Regions from separate parts of the Homo sapiens genome. Here region 2 is linked to region 1. Evidence: promoter capture Hi-C in human tissues and cell types (Jung and others, 2019). All regions are on one chromosome and are shown on one strand. The core of a region is centred on a gene start or on the middle of the fragment in contact, and the rest is flanking DNA. Distances in the headings are between cores, read along the strand shown. Region 1 holds the start of TPGS2 (tubulin polyglutamylase complex subunit 2). Region 2 overlaps KIAA1328.

Evidence for each region. The method cuts DNA at HindIII sites, captures the fragments that hold promoters and counts their contacts. A contact is called where the count stands out against the background at its distance.
Region 2: a contact is called between a fragment that was not itself captured here and the fragment with the promoter of TPGS2 in region 1, in 2 of the 25 tissues and cell types used here (IMR-90 fibroblasts and lymphoblastoid cells).

What each region holds. Positions count from the first base shown.
Region 1 is chr18:36,827,712-36,830,265 of GRCh38, forward strand. TPGS2 (tubulin polyglutamylase complex subunit 2) reads right to left here and starts at 1,291. Exons shown (of 7, transcript NM_015476.4): 1 at 972-1,291. The coding sequence starts at 1,056. KIAA1328 reads left to right here and starts at 1,416. Exons shown (of 10, transcript NM_020776.3): 1 at 1,416-1,485. The coding sequence starts at 1,428. RefSeq lists enhancers at 651-760, 861-1,653 and a silencer at 1,051-1,650. The HindIII fragment of the contact is 11,405 bases long and covers 1-2,554 here.
Region 2 is chr18:36,894,613-36,897,166 of GRCh38, forward strand. All of the region lies in intron 5 of KIAA1328, which reads left to right. Among named protein-coding and RNA genes, the nearest start is that of KIAA1328, 67 kb to the left of the region's middle. The HindIII fragment of the contact is 3,326 bases long and covers 1-2,554 here.

The sequences.
Region 1 (2,554 bases), core at 41-2,540:
TCAAAATCTAGCATCATCTCCTCTGTGACATGTTCTTTAACTTCCCTGGTAAGATCAGTCCCCTCCTCTGTGACATCTCTGAGTAACAGATTACTGACCTCTTTTCACACTCCTAGTGACCTCATTTGTTTATTTTTTTCACAGAACTGTGTCTTTTTCATATTTTTAACCTCACGTCTAACATAGTGGTGAGTACTAAAGAAACGTTTGATAGGCCAGGCGCGGTGGCTCACGCCTGTAATTCCAGCACTTTGGGAGGTCGAGGCGGGTGGATCACCTGAGGTCAGGAGTTCGAGACCAGCCTGGCCAACATGGTGGAACCCTGTCTCTACTAAAAATACAAAAAAATAGCTGGGCGAGGCAGGAGAATTGCTTGAACCCAGGAGGCGCAGGTTGCAGTGAGCCGAGATCGCGCCATTGCACTCCAGCCTGGGCAACAAGAGCAAAACTCTGTCTCAAAATACAAACAAGCAAGCAAACAAAGAAATGTTCGATAAAAGAAAAACTCTGAGTCATTCAGTGGTGCAAGGTTGGATTCCTTTCAGACCCGACGTAGTTGTCGCCCTGGGAGGTCGGGTGCATTACTTCCCCCAGAGAAAGGTCTTGGGTTTCGGGGATAATGCCCTGGCTGAGAATGCCTCCTAGGGGGAGATCCAACTTCCCAACCGTCAGGTGCTTGCTGTGTTCCCTTTGCACGTCTCTGCCCGTCCTTCCTGGGTGGGACCTTGGTTGGCGGTGAGTGGGGGAAACTTCAGGCTTCCCAGCTCTGCCTCCGAACACTCCTGGCAAACACTTTCAAGGCCTAATCACAAACCCAGGTCCCCCACTTTCCTCTGTAACAACGGAAGTCCCAGCAGCGATGTCCACTCCTGTTCTGGGGCCAGCGTCGCACCGCTCACCCCGCACCTCATCCCTCCGCTCCTCCTTCCTTCTCCTCCACACCCTCTCGGCACCGTGCCCCCTTTCCTCACCTAGGATGCGCGTGATGCCCAGGGTCAGCTTCTCCAGGTGCGGCTTGCTGCAGCCCAGCCCCGGGGACGATGCCTCCTCCTCCATGGCTCGCGACCGCGATTCGCGCGCGGCGGGAGCGGGTGGAGGGCCGGACCCCGCCTCAGCGCCGAGGCCAATTTCATGGCATGCCGGGAACGGTAGTTCTCGGCGCCTGAAAGCGCGGCGCAGTGATGATGGGGGCCCGGGGTTGGTCTGACAGCAGCAGCTCCGTGGGGCGCCGGTTCCCGCGGCCCCGCCCGGTGCCCCACACCGCACCTCCGGGACGTAGCTTCCCCTTCGCCCCCACCCTCTCGCCCCGCAGGGGCCGGCCGCGCAGGCGGGGGCGGGCCTCTGCGTGGTGCGGCCAATGGGGACCGAGCCTGCAGGCCGAGGCGTGGCGGCCCAGGCGCGACGCCCCGAGTGGCGGTTGTTTCAAGATGGCGGACGTGGCGGGCCCCTCCCGCCCCAGTGCCGCGGCGTTCTGGAGCCGGGACTGTATCCTTTGCCCGCCTGACAGGGGGCGCCGGCGCCCTCCACGGGACGGCGAGGGGCGAGCCGTCGCGTGGCAGTCCGAGAGCGGAGGAGAAGCTCCGAACTAACCCCGGGGATGGGGACGTGCTGCTCGGCCCCAGTCTAGGTGCTGGGCTCTCCCCTTGCTTGGGTGTTAGGTGGCCGAGAGACTGGTACTGTCTGCAGGTGTGGGGACACGGCTCAGATGCTTCCCAGCGCTCACTACCGGTGAGCTCGAGAAAGATAGCCTTGAGTCCAGGCTCAGTCCAGGGCTGAGATGGCCCTCCGAGGTCCCTCTGCCCACCCTGTCAGAGTGCCCCCAGGCTGACTTGAGTGTGCGGAGCTAGCTCGAAGTTGAGGGAGGAGTCGGTGTTGGCTGGACAGGGAGCCTTTTTGTTTTGATTTAGGATTGTCTTTAGTCTGCATTGCTAGGAGCAAGTCAGGACCTTTCGGACTTAAAAGGCCCTCCAGTGATGATGTATTTTAATACTGGGGTTTTAGGAGAGGTGTGGAGCTTGGTTACTGGGATGTGGTCTGGTGGTGCTGGTTACTGCGTAAGATGGGAATCATTGTGCCTGGAAGTATTGTTGACTTACTTGTGGAGTGCGGGTCACTGGCAGTCATTGAAGTTCTTGGATCGTTGTGAGGTGGAGAAGCAGTGGAACTTTTTAGTCCAGTGGTAGTATTACCAGTTCAGCAGCAGTGATGAGATGTTTGTGTGACAGGAGTGTTTCTTTCCTTGGAGTAGGTAGACTCTTCTCGCTTGAGCTTTGGTCCTGATAATTTACTTCACGTTCCTTAGAGGGGTTACTTGAAAGAGGGACGGCAATCTGTGTTACTGAGTGCTTGCAGAGGCAGCTCTTTTTGTGTTTGCTAGGATTGGTGATGGCATTAATTGAGGCGTTGCTGTTACCTTTGGCAGAATCACTGGGCATTCTTCTTAGCTCCCAGTGAAACTTACAAAACTGTGTTATCAACTCCTTTGTTGAGTTACTAGGATTAGTGTCATGTGTAGAGAGAGGGATATGTTTGTATTCTGTGCTGCTCGTGTTTA
Region 2 (2,554 bases), core at 17-2,516, 67 kb after region 1:
CTCCCAGGCCCAAGCAGTCCTCCCACCTCAGCCCTCTCAAGTAGCTAGGACCAGAGGCATGCATCACCACACCTGGCTAATTTTTGTATTTTTGTAGAGACGGGGTCTCCCTATGTTGCTCAGGCTGGTCCCGAACTTCTGGGCTCAAGCGATCCTCTCACCTAGGTGTCCTAAAGTACTGGGATTACAAACGTGAGCCACTGTGTCTGGCTTTAAGTTCTGTTTTTATTACATCACTTGGCTTTTTCATACCATTCCACAGCTTCTTATGGCCTAAAGGACCAAATGCATATTCTTGATTTTGACATTCAAGCCCTCCATTACTAGTGTCAAGTAACATGTGTGACCTTCATTTTTATGGCCCCCACATACCAGCTAAGAAAGACTTATTGGGTTTTCCTACTTATTACATCTAATTTCTGTTTCTTTGTCATTGCTTGTTTTACTAATTTCCTTCTTCAAAAATTTTTAAAGTCATCTTCCCCAGTACATTTTTAAAAATAGTATTTGGCTCCTAGCATTCATACCTGTACCAGCTGCCCTAACTTGCGTATCTTCTTATGGTTCTTTGGGCACTGTTGTGTACTTGAAACAGTCCTGGATTTTTAGTAAGAAAACTTATAAGAGATCTTGGATCAGCTACTTTATACTTTTGTGACTTTGGTAAGTCATTGAATGCAGGAGCATTTCAATGACATTTTAGAAGAATAAGCTGCTTTGCAAAGGCTTTAGGCTAGAGTAGGGGTGAGAAAGTGAAGGCCACGAGGAAAAGGAGATACTGTTGTGCCAAAGGGCGTCTATGTGAAGGGATGTTTTGGGATTTGTTTTAAGGCTGGAAGAGATTTTAAAGATCTGCTTCATATCTTCTAGCACCTTTTCTGATTTTCAGCTTTTCTTCTGTAAGAATGAGACAAATATTTTTTAAAAATTCTAATAAGTTTATCTAACTGCTAAACATGTATTTTTTGGAGTAGTGTGAGAAGAGATGGTGCTTTTCAGCCCCTTTGCCTGCTATTCTGGGCTTAGCAAGGTTCGTTTGCTTATGTATTTATTTGTTACTTAAGAATTTGCGATGGACTGAATTGTGTCCCTTCAAAATTCATATGTTGAAGCTCTAACCCCCAGTGAGAATGTAGCTGAAGATAGGGTTTTTAGGAGGCAATTAAGGTTAAATGAGGTCATACTGGTAGAGCCCTAATCCAATGACTGTTGTCCTAGAAGAAGAGCAGAGAGATCTCTCTGTCACACACCACACCCCCACGTTGTCCTGTGTGAGGCCACAGCAAGAAGGTAGAAGCCTGAAAGCCAAGAGAGCCCTCACCAGAAACCAAACCCGATCAGACCTTATTTTGGACTTCCAGCCTCCAGAACTGTGAGAAAATAAATATCTGTTGTTTAAGCCTCCCAGTCTGTGGTATTTTGTTATGGCAGTCTGAGCAGACTAAGGCAGTACTTAATATGTACTTAGTTCTTTGGTAATTTTTATTCTAATTATCAGCTTAGAAGGCTTTTCAGTGTATTTGTGGAGGGTAGTGTTTCTAATATTAGTGTATTTTCAGATATCGTTCTCTGATCATTTTAGCTTTATTTTCTTGGTTGGGTGTTAATACATTTTTGAACAATAATTTTTAAATATCATTTTGTATTATTTTTTGATGAGATTTGATTTTTGGCAATCTTGTTGCCTTACTAGCTAAGACCCTTTTAATATATATGATGTACTCATTTTATAATTAAAAAAATAGCTTAACTTTCCAAGCTTGATTTTGCTTTGGTTTTGATGTCTTCGATTTACTGAAGGCTCCAGACGTGGAACCTTAACATCCTCAGAGAGCAACTTCTATGTTGCTTTATAGTGAGTGACACTGCAGTTCAAATAAATGTGGATTGGGGCTTCTCACCTGGCTCTAGTGGCTAAGGATTTCATTTCTTTTTGATACCCACATGTAAATAAGCTCAGCAAACTGAAATTCAAAAAACATTTATTTGCTGCATCTTTGTTTAATTATCTTTTTTTCAGTGATGGTTCTGTTCTGGATAAATGGTACTAAACCTGTATAGCATCATTTAAAATTACTTTGGAAAGTTTCAACAGTTCTTGTATGAAGAAATAGACTTTAAATAAATCAATCTCATAATTATCATTCAGGGTATTATTTAGGATTATTGTTTAGCCTTTTACATTACTGATTTTCCTTAAAGGGCTATCTGATGTACTCTTTTCAGCTACATCTGTTTGCCATACCACAGCTTGTAATTGCTTTACATTTGAAGAATATAGTGAGTGACTTTATTATTAATCAGTAGCAAATTTGTCTTAGTATTCTTAACCTTAGGATGGCCTTAACTTATGAATAAATGATTTAGATGGTAATACTCTCACTTAAGTTAGAGACTTATGCAGTAACATTAAAAAAAATTGTACTCAAGATTTTGCATTTCAAAACTAATTTTTCAGAAGTAGTGAATATAATTATGCTCATGAAATAATTAGAAGTCAACAGAATATCTGAATTGTATCTTCCTATGGAAGATGGTAAGGATTATCATCTTC